Linked DNA regions of Homo sapiens: all the other regions are linked to region 1. Evidence: promoter capture Hi-C in 16 types of primary human blood cells and fetal thymus (Javierre and others, 2016). All regions are on one chromosome and are shown on one strand. Each heading gives the region's core, a stretch centred on a gene start or on the middle of the fragment in contact. The rest is flanking DNA. Distances are from core to core; before and after follow the strand shown.

Region 1 (4,918 bases), core at 1,163-3,662:
GAGACTCCACCTCTACAAAAAAAAAAAAAGTTTAAATTACCTGGGCATGATAGCACCTGCCTGTAGTCCCAGCTACTTGGGAGGCTGAGGTGGGAGGTTAGCTTGAGCCTGGGAGATCAAGGCTGCAGTGAGCAGTGAGTGATAGCCCACTGCACTCCAGCCTGGGCAACAGAGTGATACCCTGTCTCAAATAAATACGTAAATAAAGGTGTGTCAAGCTGGGCAACGTGTGACTACTTACAATTCCGTTAACATGATTAGTTCAGTTGTCTCTAAAAGAGTACCCCCAAACTCCCTCACTCGGTAGGTAAAGTTTACTTGTGTCTGGGAACTTCTCTGTTGTAATACATCGGGAGTTTTATGAATACATAAAAAACAACAGCAGGGAAACTGGGAGCTAGGTCTATAAAGAAGAGGTCTTCCCCCATTTTTGCTCTTCAAATTTATTTGATAAAATTTTATACGGTGCTGTGGGGGAAGGAGGCTTTTGTCTGAAAGATCAGGTTTCTTCAGAGGATGATCTAGGGCCAAAATCTACCTAGTCAAAGAGAAAACGATCTGGGGTACAAAAGTCAAGTCAGTTCTGGACAGACCCCAGAAGGTTTATCATAAAATGATCACAGAAGACCTTTCTCTTTGCTACCCCCAAATTGGACTGTACGCCCCATGTCACTTCCGAAGGTTACTCGCGAAGACGGATGCTTTGCCAAGATCCCAGAAGTTTCTGGCGAGCTGCTCACGGACACAAATTAGAAAGACATTCAGGGACCGACCTGGGTGAAGCTAAGCGCCACGTCCAGCGCTGGGTTCCCCCTTCATCCCTCCCAATATAGGAAAAGGGACAGAAGAGGGCAGCAGCCAAGCAGGAACGCCCAATCAGCCGTCTTCACCCCCCCTCCCCTGAGCCAGGTTTCGGGGAGCCGCCCCCTAGCCCTCACGTAGGCCCATTCCCACCCGCCCCTGCCCTGGGCCCGCGACCCCAGGGAGGAGGGGACGACGGCGGCGAGCGCCCCCACCGGCAGCAGGCGCACCTCCCCAGGGGCAGCTGTCGCCGCGGCCCGCGGGGCCCGGGCCTCCCCGGGAGCAATAGGCTATCGATTCAGCTGCCTGTCGCTAGGAGCCCCGGGAGAGCGAGGCCTACACCGCCCGGCCGGAGCCCCGGCCTCGATTTCGCCACTTTCCCCAAACCAGAGGGAGAGCCCGGGGGCAACCAGGCCCGTCTGGGCGAGAGGGAGGAGAAGCAGAGACCACTTGCAACAGCGGCCGCGGGAAACGGGGTGCGGGGCGCCGGGCTCCCGCCAACAAGTCTCCCGGGGGTCCCCCACCCTACCGCCTGCCTCGCAAGTTGCGCATTCAAGTTCAGGCTGGTGCCCTTTAGCCTCCACAGCCCTCGCCACTCTCGAAACTGTATTAAAAACAAGACGCAGAAGAGGCCACAACCGAACGAAAGGCGATGGTGCTGGGCCTCTAAGAGCGCCGAGGGGGGCGGCCCACAGCGACCCTACCGCCCCAGTCACTTCCCCTCTGCAGACCCCGCCAGCCCCCGGGTCGCAGCCCCCGGCCCCTCGGCGTCCGGGTCTGTCACCGCCCGCTTCCCAGCCCCAAGACCCCTTTTCCTTAACGCCGGCGACGGGGGCTTCAGCTCCCCCTTGCCTCCGGCGCTCCTCGGCCTCCTCACCCTCCACATCCCCAAAATGCCCCCAGCACCTTTTAAAGTACGCGGAGGAAGAGTTTGCCGTCAAACTTTGTAGAGCGGTAACCTCGCCCCCCTCCCCGACCTACACTTTCAGGGCAGGCATCAGGAGAGATCACTTTGCACTTGGGATAAAGCGAATTAAGGAGCTGTCAACCATTTTAGGTCTTTTTTATAGAAGACATCCTCTCCTTCCCCTCCCCCTGCAATGGTTTTAATTTGACACCAAACCTTCCCACCGCAGAAGGGGGTAGAGAAAGGGAGGGGGTGGGGACAGAGGGCAGGAGGAGGGTGACGGGGGAGAGCGAGAGGGGGAGGCTGGGAGGGTGCGGGGAGGCGCGGGGAGGGGAAGGGGGTTGATTTACCTGAGACCAGCCACTGGCCTCCATTGTTGGAGAATTCAATGGCATTGACACAGCCGAAGTGGCCGAGGAGGTCCTTCTTGTAGAGGTTTCTGCAGCCCCGCAGGCGTCTCCTCTGAAAGTCCTGAGTGAGCAGGGGGTCCCCATGCAAGCCCCGCTGGGACAAGAAGCCCACCACTGACCTCATGCTGCCCCCCAGGCCAGCTCTCCTCTTCATGCTGGAACCGCCGCCGCCGCCGCTCGCGCCGCCGCCCCTCCCTCGGCCTCACGCGCGGCCGCTGCTCCCCCCACCCGGCCCTCCCCCCGCGCTGCGATCCGGATGGTTCTTTAACCAGCCATGGCAGGCAGAGCGAGGTGTGCAGACACTCGGCGGCGTTCGCGGCTTCCTGACGGTCCCCTCCCTCTCCTTCCCCCCGAGGCTCCTCCCTCTGCCTCTCCGCCTCCTCCAGCAGCTGATCCTCAGCTGCCGCCGCGCTTCCGCGATGCGCGGCCCTTCCGCCGGCTGCGGGGCCCCGAGAACGCGGCGTCGGCGCCCCTCCCCTCCGCGGGGGGCTGGCCGGAAGAACGCGGGCGGCCGGCCCGGAGACCACGGGCGCCGGCTGCTTTCCCAGTTGAGCCGCTTCCCGCCTGGGGACCTGGGTGGCGCCGGGCGGAGACCCCTCTGCACCCCAGCGCCCCGCACTCCGCGGAGTTGAATGCGCGTAACAATCCGAGTGGCCGCCGGGCTTTGGCTCGCCTTCCTCCCGCGGGGACCCGCGGGCCGGCTGCTGCCCGGAGGCCAGCGCCCGTACGAGTTCGGGGAAAATGCGGCTGGAGTGGGGGAAGGTGCGGGCGGGGGCTCCGGCCCTCCTTCCTCTGCTGGCCTCTGCCTTGGGCAGTCCGGCCCTGCCCGAGGCGGGGGAACCGGGAGGTAGGGCCGCACACTTGGAGGAACGTTGCCTGGGGGTTTTGTTCGCGCACCCGCCCCTTCCCCTCTCCCGGTAAATGTTTAACACCACCGCTCATCCCCAAGTCCAGTTCTCTAACTCTTCCTTCCTCCGGTCCTTTAGTTGAAAAAGGCTAAATTGTTCCGTCTGGCAGATTAGAGTGGTACATGGGGGGAAAGAGAAAGGGATAAAGAAGTAGGAAGAAAATTGCCAAAACCGAGTTGATGAAGTCCCGAGAAGCACGAGGTACTTCTCTCCGTTCCAGATAAATTTGCACGACACAAGAAGCGTGATTTGAAACTAACGATATATGTTATTTAATTGGGTTCGGTGAGCTCCTCTTAAAGGTCTCGAGTGGGGAGCACTGAGGTTGGACAGCTGTTAACCAGCAGCTGCGCTCCAGGCCAGAAGTGGCTGCACTTCAGTAGGATGGGAGTCACCGCGTTGACCCTAGTGGGTGTTAAATGCTTTGGAATTCTACCAGATACAGTTAAAAGTCCCCTTTTCGATGTATTATAGTACTTTTCCTGGAAGCTATCCTCTGTCATTAAGTGGTAATAAGCTACTGAAATAGGCACTTGTCAGTTTTGCCCTTTCAAGTTAGCAGGAATTACATCCTCTGGACCAGAGATGGCACAGGAGCAGTTGAGTAGAATCATCATTGAAAGATGGGCTGTACATCTCTGATCTGGGGAAAATAATAATAATTTTTTTTAAAAAAAAAGATCGGCTGAACATGGAAGAGGTTTACCCGTCAAACAAAATTATTTACTTCTACTTTTTGTTCAGTGACAATACGATTAATCGTACTAATAACAAATATGCAAATGTTTCATATAAAAGTACATATTCTAGCAAACATTACTAAACAGAAACCAAATTCCATCAGAACTTGGGGAAAAGGGCAAAAAATAAATAAATTTTTAAAAGAAAGAAATCAAATTCCAAAAATGTGAATTTTAATGGAATATTGTTCCCCTAAATAGGAAACTATGTGGTACTTAAAAGGTTTTATCCTCAGGATGCCTTCTAATAATCCTTTGTGTTTATTCATTATAATCACCACCTAAAAATTAGTAGCAGTATACCAGCTTTATTAAAGATGTATAGCACCAAACATCCTTCTGTCATTGCAATGTCAAAATGTGTAATTAATCATTTATTTTTGTGATGATATGAGTCTCCCCACTCTGCTGTAAGTTCTCTGAGAGCAGGGACTACGTCTGTTCTGCTCAAGGGTGTATGCCTGGAGCCAGTACTTGCTGGCACTAGTGGCCGCTTTAATACTTGCTGAATTCATGAATGTACTTAGGGAGTGGGGAGGAGTTTGAAGGGAAAGGTCGTGCTTTCCGGTTTGGATATGTTGAGTTTGACCTGTTTCATTCCAGTGGAATCCACTTGTTCCAAGGCCAGTTTCCCTGCTCACTGTTCCTTTGCTTGGCATACTCAGTCCACACATTCAAAACCCCCTCTAACTTCTTCCAGTTAATAGGCCATCATTTATACCTATTTGCCTGGGGTGGGGGAGATTTGTTCGAAGTGGCCTTTACTGTGGCAGTGTATAATACGCATCCTCCTCTGCCCTCTTAAGCACATACCCCCTTTACAGTTTTTACTGAATTCCTGGGAAAATTGTCCCATTTACCTCAGCATAAAAATAGACCAGCATCTGGTCACATGCCAGCCCAAATCTAGGACTTTGCTGGAAACTTCCTTAACTGTTGGGTGACCAACAGTGACAGAAAGGTAGGACCACCTAGTCTGTTTATATCCTACTGCTAGTCTGGCCAGATTTTTATAAGCCTGAATGAAATATCTTCCTATTCCTATAATTAAGAGTTGTCGGATAAAATGGAGGATACCCAATTTGGTATGAATTTCAGATAAACAATGAATGTTTAAGTATACCCCATGAAATATTTGAGATATACTAATAT
Region 2 (4,918 bases), core at 674-3,173, 1.3 Mb before region 1:
ATAGTCTTCAGAGGAAGACACTACTATTACTCCTATTTTATAAATGAGGAGTTGGAGGCTGGAAGAGATGAACTCAATTGCCCAGGGCCTCCATGCTCCAGCTAGTCCCACCTCACTGCCTCCAAAATGTGTACTGGTGATGTGAATCAAGGTCTGCCAACTCACAGACCAGGTAAGACATTATGCCCATCTAAAGGCATTTACATTCAATTTTTAAAAGAATGTCAGTTTTTAACCCTTGATCTAAATCCCAGCCATGCTTTCAGTCCATTCTTTATCCTACTACAAAAACCTTCTCCAATACCTCCAACCCATACAACTTCAATGTACTTAAAATTAGTACCATATGATTTAATACATAATAGTGTGTGTTTTAGTCCTTCTTCCTCAGTCACCTAAAAGCAAGAACCTCTAGAGCCTATCCTCTGTTTGCAGGGTGAGGGTACAGGGAGAGAAGGGGGTGAGAAGTAGGTTATTTCCCATACTTAAGCATCATGCCTATAGATGGTACTCGATGATGCCACTTCATTAACTGCCTCAGAGATGGACTGCAAGACCATGAGTCCTTTACCTAATACAAGTGAAAGTCCCTCTCTTAAATCCTACTGTAAATATGTCTTTAATTAACTGGTGTCAGGGTCATTAAAAAAATAAGTATTGGGCCTCAGAGCATATCTCAGGCACTAAAGTAGTAACTGATACATGCTATAACGATATAATTAAGACTTAATTTGAATCTACCCCCAGAAGGTTGTTATGAGAATTAACTCTAACACATTCAGTGACCCTGTTATAGAAAAGATAGTCAACGAATACTAGTTCCTTGTCCCCTTCATATTCCCTGCTATCTACTAATAAATCTTTAATTCCCAGTTATACTTGGTACTTCTGGACAACCACATCAAAAATTCTAAAATCATATAAGTTTACCCTAACTCTAAACTCTCCTCAAAGGAGCTTCTGTGTTGCCTTGCCTGAGAACAAAGTATGGGCAACATCTTGGAGACCTCTCTCTTCTGGGTCCATGGAAGCTAAGCTGCTTAAGTGACTGTCAACCCTGGGCAGATGGTACCAGGGCTCTCTCTCACCTCGAGGATGTTCTCTGGAATGTCACCTTGGAGGTCTTCTGACAATAAAAGAAACTCAAGCTTTCTCCGGAAAACAACTGGGAGTAACTTCTAGAAGAATCAAAAGAATGAAGCATAGAGATGAGATATATGTTTTAGTTAACAAATTATAATTAAATATTTCTGTCCAGTTAGTCTTATTTCTGCTATTTCTCTAAGATGAAGCACTCTTTTTTTTTTTTTTTTTTTTTTTTTTTATTTTGAGACAGAGTCTTGCTCTGTTCCCCAGGCTGGAGTACCGTGGCATGATTTTAGCTTACCGCAACCTCCACCTCCCAGCTTCAAGCGATTCTCAGGCCTCAGCCTCCCGAGTAGCTGGGATTACAGGTGCGCACCACCACGTCCAGCTAATTTTTATATTTTTATTAGAGACAGGGTGTCACCATTTGGCCAAGCTGGTCTGGAACTCCTGACCTCAAGTGTTCCACTCACCTCGGCCTCCCAAAGTGCTGGGATTACAGATGTGAGCTACCACGCCTGGCCTAAGATAAAGTACTTTTAAACACAACATTCCTGGATATGTTTTCAGTACTATTCTTTTCTCTTTTTTTTTTTTTTTTTTTTGAGATAGAGTCTCGCTCTGTTGCCCAGGCTGGAGTGTAGTGGCGCAATCTCAGCTCATTGCAACCTCCGCCTCCTGGGTTCAAGCGATTCTCCTGCCTCAGGCTCCCGAGAAGCTGGGACTATAGGCGTGTGCCACCACTTCTGGCTAATTTTGTGTATTTGTAGTAGAGATGGGGTTTCACCGTGTTAGCCAGGATGGTCTTGATCTCCTGACCTCGTGATCCGCCTGCCTCGGCCTTCCAAAGTGCTGGGATTACAGGCGTGAGCCACCGTGCCTGGCACAGATACTATTCTTTATAAACAAAAATAGCTAAACTTGGACATACACTTCTCTTAAAAACTAATACTTAAAGCCCACACTGATCAGCCGTAAGTTCCAAGGTTTGTTCATTTCATTAACCTTTTTTGTCACTTGAGGTCTTTCCCCAAGAATCTCTCTTGTTGTGTTCAAAACACCCAGTTGTGGGTAAGCCTGGGAGGGTATGGCCCACATGATCCTCTTTTGGTCCAAACCTCTGTTTTTGTCATTCACTATCCTTTGCATAGCAGTGAAAGAAGAACAGTATAAGGGGAGAAATCCAATGTTTATTAAACACTTATTATATGCCAGTACCTCACAGGTACTGTGTGCCATATTTTATTCTTAATACACTTAATTTCCAAATCAAACAAAACTGTGGCACATATTTATATATTTTTTACAAATAATCTTTACTAGAGGTAAAATGGTTAGGAAGCATTTTTCCCAATTTTTTCAAACAAAAAGGAAAAGGTGATCCCAGTGTTTGTTAATGAGATGTGCCATCAGAGAGGTCTAATATATAGAGACAAAGGCTCTGACTCTTCCTGCGCCTGCTTGTTTCACAATAACTTACCTTCACCTGGTCCCTAACACACAAATTGGAGTCTCCCCTTTTCCAGACACAAATAAAAATAGCAAGAGTCTGAGACTTATCCTGACAAACACTACCTTAAATATGAGACATCTGTCAATCTTGCCTCTGGTTAAAGCTTCCCAAAGATAAGTTTTATTGGAAGGCAAGGAACACCTGCAGGGATGTGTGTGTGTGAGAGTGTGTGTGTGTGTACAGCTGCAGGTGTGTGTGTGTACATGAGTGAGGAGAGTTTAGAGCACAAGACCTAACTATCTCCATTCATGTACCATTCACCACATCAGAGGCTAACATGATCTAATGTGTTCTTGGTCCAAAATCTTATTTCTTCTAACCATGTACTTCCCTAATATGTGCATCAAGGCCATGTGAATGCTTGTATAATGCCTGTGATTGGAAGCTGGTGGATAAAATTCATGCTGGGAAGCTGAGGATTAGTGCTTCTATTGAAGACTAACAGAAAAGAATAGATAAGATGTCTAGGACAGCAGATCCTTAATAGCCTGGCTAAGATTTTATTTAGAATCCTAAAGACTGAGTAGATTATACTTATTTTACTGCTGAAACTACTTTAAACATATTCAGGATCATAATTGACTAACATTTATCTTCCTAAAATAGGCAAGAATTTGCTCAGCATTTCTAAGCAAGGATGTCATGCAAAAGTGGAACCAAAGACAAAATTAATTCTGGTGACCGAGAGGAGCAAAAATTTAAAAAACTGGCAAAATTATAGACATCTTAAAAGTAGAATTTGTGGTTTCTTAGTTTTAAGTCCATCTGGGCTAAAAAAGTAGTGTTAAGGCAGAAAAAGCAGAGGATTGAGGTCAGAAGATTTTGGTTTCAGCAGCAGTTCTGTCAAATAACTTTACGGTTACAAGAGCAAGGCATGTTCAATGTAGAAAAATTGAATATACAAATAAGTAAACTAAAATATGTTATATATATATAAAACATATGTATGTCCAGTTAGTCTTATTTCTGCTATTTCTCTAAGATAAAGTGTTTTATCCTAGAGAGAGATATGTAACATATATGTTATATTTTAGTGCAATATAATATATATAACATATGTTAGTTTGCTTATTTGTATATTTAATTTTGTAATTTTACAAATTTAATTGGTGTATTTAGTTACATATGAAATATATAATATATAACATATATGAAATTTATGATATATAACAAATATAAAATATATGATATATAACATGTATTATATATGAAATATATATCACATATGAAATATATTACATATAACATATTATATATGAAATATATATTTTATATATATTCTCACTGAAGGAGAACAATTATGAAAACTGTGGTCTAAGGCCATTCATTCAGACCATTTGCTATGCACATCTCTATGCATGTATACCAAATGTACTTTTTTCTAAACTGCCTTTTTTCCCATACAGCAGACCATGAACACTCTATGTTAGTGAAAACTCATTTGCCAAATACTTTTGAATAGTGGTATAGTATTTTACATATAGATATATTTCCATTTATTAACCTGTCCTATACTATGGACATGGGAGTTGTTTCAGTTTTCTTCTAATAGAAGTAGCATAGACGTGAACATTTCTGCAGCTAAATCTTTGTATAATTGCTTACACATGGAGAGATACATCTCTGCAAGATTAAAAGGCAGAAGGCAAAAATGAATGGAGGAAAGGGAAAATAGAATCACTATTTCATCTAATAATTAAAAGGGAAGCTTTTGGCAAAAGGTGGGAACCTGGAAAAGGACAGGCAGCCAGTAAATTCCTAGATGATGAAGGCACCTTCAGGATAATGACTGGACTTGGAAAACTACCCCAAGAATTCACTGGACGCCATGGTGCTTATATAGTTTTAAAATTCTATGAGGAACTAAAATAGTCCCACAACTGTTTAAATAAGCAAGTCATTGAAGCTTTAAAGACCAAATAATCTATTTGTGAACCTGGGAAAAACAAGAACGGGAAGTGGAATCCATCTCCTGACATAGTTGAGCAACTGTCTAGAAAATAAGCAACCATTCAGATATAAAGTAAGCAAATAGTCTCTACTGAGGGGAAAGTTAATTTGATTTGACAAATTCCATGTTTGTACTAGAGAGATCCCTTAATCAGTAACAATAGTTCTTTTTCTCTTTGAAGATACTATAGTAACTATAGGTTACTATTTTAGTTCAAGTTTTCTCTTTTAAATCTGAAACCATAGCCAACTCTTAATGATGCTGGGTTTCATTATGTTTCAATCTTGTTTTTCTTTCTTCTCGCTCCTACTAGTCTTTCTGTCATTTTTCTTTCCTAAACAACTGGCTAAATCCTGGATAAGAGATAC
Region 3 (4,918 bases), core at 914-3,413, 1.2 Mb after region 1:
TTTTGGGTTTTAAAGAAACCTCTGTCCAATAAAAGGAAACATAGTCCAATTAAAAAATGGGCAAAGGATTTGAACAGACATTTCTCCAAAAAGATATTCAAATGACCAATAAACATTTGAAAAGATGCTCAACATAATAAGTCGTTAGGGAAATGAAAATCAAAACCACAATGAGGTATCACTTCACACCTACTAGAAAGGGTAATAATTCAAAAGATGGACAATAACAAGTGTTGGCAAGGATGTGGAGAAATTGAAAATCATATCTTGCTGGTGGGAATGTAAAATGATGCAGCCACTTTGGAAAACATCTGGCACATCCTAAAAAGTTGAAGAGTTACCATATGACCTAGCAATTCCACGTCTAGGTATATTCCCTACCTGAGAGAAATGAAAACATACTTCCACACAAAGCGTGTACATAAATGTTCATAGCAGCATTATTCATAATAGTCAAAAATTGAAACAACCCAAATGTTCATCAATTGATAAAATATATCCAAACAATGGAATTATATCCATCAAAAGGAATGAAGTATTGATATATGTTACAATGTGAATGAACCTTAAAAACATTCTAAGTGGAAGAATCCAGTCACAAAAAACCCACGTTGTATTAGTGTGTTAATATGAAATGTGCAGAATAAGCAAATTTACGGGTAGAAGTAGATTAGTGGTTTACCAGGCCAGCATTAAGAGGCAGGAAGAAATGGGAAGTGACTACTATTAGTTATGATGCTTTTTTGGGGGCAATGAAAATGTTCTAAAATTGTGGTGATGGCTCCATAACTAAGAATATACTAATATACGAATATATTAGTATACTAATATCGAATTTGCTAAAAACAACAATTTTTTTTTTTTTTTTTTTTTTTGGAGAGACAGAGGTCTTGCTGGTTTGGAACTCCTGACCTAAAGCGATCCTCCTGTCTTGGCTTCCCCTAACACTGGGATTACAGGTGTGAGCCATCGTGCTTGGCCCAGATACTTCAAATGGGTGAATCTTTTGGAGATTCCTAAAATCCACATTTGATGAATGTGGATTTTTCAAAACTGTGTAAAATATCCATTACCTTTCTAAGATCACTTCTTTCCTTTAGTCTGCTTAAATGGAAAAGCTGGTAATTTCATCTGCGCCAACATTCATACAAAATAAAAATATAGTCTGTATTTAAAAGCAGCTTTTGTTCATATGCTTTAATTATTTCATTTACTAACACATCAAGGCTTGCTGAAGCAAAATAACTGGCCCGTAATCAAAAAGCAAATAAGAGTCATCTGGATTTCAACTCTGGTTGTCTTAAGCCAGCCTCAGCCTGCATTTCATGACATCCTTAGGGAACTCAGTGTGGATATGGATGAAACCATATAAACACGGAAGCTGTTTTCAACGTGCTTTAGAAATTATAACACAGCAATCATTCTGGCTACAATGTGGCAGGCACCGTACTCAACACTTTATTCACAAGGTGTTATTAGTTCATCACAACTCTAAGTATTAAGCTAATTCACAAACTAGAAAGATGAAACAGAAAGATACCAGGAATTCGTGCAGTTAAATGGAATACATCTAGTCCCAATGATCCACAGTATCGTCAAAACATAGCTAAGTTGGGGGCGAGGAAGCAAGCTTAGTAATCATCCAAACTTGGCTTAAAGTGTGGTTCTGACTGAATTCTCTGAGCTTCAATTTACTTAACTGTGAATCAAGGGTAGTAACAATGACCGCGTTCGACGATGGGAAAGACGCCACGCTCACAAGCAGACAGATCCTAGTACACCTGAAATCCAACCGGGAGTGGGGGACAGCGGCGGGGAAGTGGGGGTGTGGAAAAGACTGGTGGAAGAGCTTTTAGGAAAGCTCTCACCCCGTCGCTAGCTCCTTCCTAGCCCGAGTGCCAGCCCTTAACTTCACATTTTACAGATTCCCTCCCAGGTCTTGATCCTGCCAAGGAGGAGGGTCCCACCCCTTGCGGAAGATCCTCCTCACTCCACTCACCAACATGGGGACTCCATAGCCGAGAGTCTTGTTCTTGCGAAAAGCACGCATCACCGCGGGTGCAAACATGAGTGAACTCTTCCATCGGCTCAGAACTCCAAGCGGGCCTAGCGCAGACTCCCAAATCTCAGCAGCTCACGCTCTCACCAAGACGAGTACGTCCTTAACTCACTTCCTTTTCCTTGGTTATTTGGTGCTCGGTCCTTAGTGAATGGTTTCCGCTAGGCAAAAGCAATCGAGCCATCGTAACATACTTGTGCGTCCGCCCAGAAATGTGGGCGTCAGCGTTTTTGGTTCCGTAACGTCGGCGTGCAATTGGGATTTAGAGATTTGAATCGGTTTACGATCACCACCAAATTGATCTGGAAACCAGTACTTCCCACGTTCTGGGTCCTAACTAACGTCTGCTTAGAACACTCCCTTAGGCACATAGCCACTCGATAAAATCAGCTAAGGAAAAAAGTATTTTGAGGCCGGGCGCGGTGGCCTGGGTGGGTGGCCTGTAATCCCAGCACTTTGGGAGGCCGAGGCCGGTAGATCACCTGAGGTCAGGAGTTCTAGATCAGCCTGGTCAACATGGTAAAACCCCGTCTCTATTAAAAAAAAAAAATACAAAAATTAGCCGGGCGTGGTGGCAGGCGCCTGTAATCCCAGCTACTGGGGGGCCGAGGCAGGAGAATCGCTTGAACCCGGGAGGCGGAGGTTGCAATGAGCAGAGATCGCGCCATCGCACTCCAGCCTGGGGAACAAGAGCGAGACTTCGTCTCAAAAAGAAAAAAGAAAAAAAAGTATTTTGAAGCTGGTACTCCAGTCTTTATGGCTATTTGTGGGATGAGGAATTTGCCAGTTTAATGGAGACTTTTAAAAATAAATCGCTTTTGAAAGATTAGGTTGAAATGTAATCAGTGTAGTGTCTCATCAGTCATTACTGAACTTTTAATGCTAATGATTTTACTGTGAGATAACCTGTAATCTTTAGTCATTTATGAATGTCTATTTACCAATGATTCAGCAACCATACAGGCCACCTTTCAGCGTGTCTTTGAAAGGGTTCTAGGAACACAGATAAAAATATATGATCCTTACCTTAAAGACACTGGCGATTTCATGGGCACAGAAACAAACATGTGTGAAGTACTGGGATAGCTTAGGAAGCCGATCCCCCACGTGTCCCATTTACCAGAGTGAATCAGAGTGCAGGTGATGCGGAATATTATCTTCCATGCTATTCCTGAAATATTTCCATCTGTCCCTGCCTCTCTGTTACCACTGAAATGTTCCTTTTTTTAATTCCTTATCATCTTTTCACCTATTAAAGTAGCCTCTTAAGTGGTCTCCAGAAGAGAAGCTCCAGATCTACTGCAGGCTACTCCAGTGAAACTTATCCTTTTGGCTAAGATCAAGTGTAGTATCTGTTCTTAACAGTTTAATATTTGACACATTCTCTATCCAAGGAAAATATGTTAAATGGGTTTTTGAAGCAAGGAGATGGAATAGGAGTTTGCTCCACCACTCTACACATCAACCTGTATTTCAATACCTCCAGAAACCCAGGAACGGTGCATCTCTCCCATCTTATTTACTTCCTTTTGATATTTCAAAATTCATGCAGACCAGGCATGGTGGCTCATGCCTGTAATACCTGCAGTTTGGGAGGCTGAGGCAGGAGGATCATTTGAGCCCAGGAGTTCGAGACCAGCCTGAGCAACAAAGCAAGACCCCATCTTTACAAATAATAATAATAATAATAAATTAGCCAGGCATGGTGGGGTCTCAGCTACTTGGGAAGCTGAGGTGGGAAGATCACTTGAGCCCAGGAGGTCCAGGCTACAGTGAGCCGTGATCATGCCACTGCACTGCAGCCTGGGTGACACAGCTAGACCCTGTTTCAAAAATAAATAAATAAATCTCACGTGGCATCCAGGTTAGTTAAGCGTATCACATCTCCTACTTTCCCTAAGATCCTAGAAGCCAAAGGCGCTGCTCTAAAACTCTAGCGTTTTCCTACATCTTCACTACATAAAACATCAGCCTACTGGATACTACTCCATCAAAACCCGGCACCTAAGTAGTAGCTAATAATGGGTTAAATCGTATACATATATTCAAAATAATGCTAGAGTCGATAATCTTACACTTTTCAGATAAGGCATCTATCCAATTTAAGGCACTCTATGTCTTTAGTATCTTGTTTGTTCAATCACTCAAATAAGCATTTATTGAGAACCTTGAAATGGCCCTGAAGGAGTAACTGTGAACAGTAGGAATTACAGGTATGCCGGCAGATTGTCAGGGGACAAAATCTGTGACACTGAGGAATGTAAGCACCTATCAAATCATACTACATAGGTGGTAAATTTTACCAGCTATGCATAGCGCCCTTCTTAAGCATCACTACTGTATACTTCAGTTTTTCCATCTGTTAAATCGGAATGAGTGATATTTGTCATCAGTTTACGATTCTCACAAAAAGGGAACACAAAATTTCTTACCAGTATGGAATCTGTTGCCTTCCCAGAAATATGACTCAAATTCCATGTGTTTCCATTGTTAATAAACAGTTAAAATGCTGACTCAGCTATCTTAACTGTAAGAAGTTACAAAAAATGTATATTCAGGAAATGGGGCATCTCCACCATCTATGCCAGTCCCTGAGGACTGGTATGTACTTGATATCCAGGCAGGTTATATTATCCTCTAGTATCTGCTCTACCAGCATTTAACTCATGCAAGTACATGGGAGCGTTGTTATAAAACAAAAACAAAAACACCAGTCTTCTTGAGAGCTTTAGTCCTGAAGTTAGGTTTTAGAATTATGGCCAGAACTGGCCAGCCACAGTGGCTCATACCTGTAATCCCAGCACTTTGGGAGGCCGAGGCGGGCAGATCACCTGAGGTCAGGAGTTTGAGACCAGCCTG

What was found. Contacts are between HindIII fragments. The CHiCAGO score rates a contact against its expected background, and 5 or more counts as called.
Region 2: a fragment that was not itself captured here is called in contact with the fragment with the promoter of DCAF5 in region 1 in 1 of 17 cell types (neutrophils); the score reaches 6.6 in neutrophils.
Region 3: the fragment with the promoter of COX16 here is called in contact with the fragment with the promoter of DCAF5 in region 1 in 1 of 17 cell types (naive B cells); the score reaches 5.0 in naive B cells.

The regions. Positions count from the first base shown.
Region 1 is chr14:69,150,707-69,155,624 of GRCh38, forward strand. It overlaps DCAF5 (DDB1 and CUL4 associated factor 5), which reads right to left and starts at 2,413. Exons shown (of 9, transcript NM_003861.3): 1 at 2,059-2,413. The coding sequence starts at 2,272. RefSeq lists silencers at 728-1,187, 1,348-1,397, 2,218-2,857. The HindIII fragment of the contact is 17,790 bases long and covers 1-4,918 here.
Region 2 is chr14:67,808,112-67,813,029 of GRCh38, forward strand. It overlaps ZFYVE26 (zinc finger FYVE-type containing 26), which reads right to left. Exons shown (of 42, transcript NM_015346.4): 4 at 1,089-1,178. Among named protein-coding and RNA genes, the nearest start is that of ZFYVE26, 6.0 kb to the right of the region's middle. The HindIII fragment of the contact is 1,554 bases long and covers 1,147-2,700 here.
Region 3 is chr14:70,357,520-70,362,437 of GRCh38, forward strand. COX16 (cytochrome c oxidase assembly factor COX16) reads right to left here and starts at 2,164. Exons shown (of 4, transcript NM_016468.7): 1 at 2,000-2,164. The coding sequence starts at 2,068. The region is part of intron 3 of SYNJ2BP-COX16 (SYNJ2BP-COX16 readthrough); the gene reads right to left. It also overlaps the pseudogene RNU2-51P. RefSeq lists enhancers at 1,884-2,193, 2,654-2,743. The HindIII fragment of the contact is 4,146 bases long and covers 1,629-4,918 here.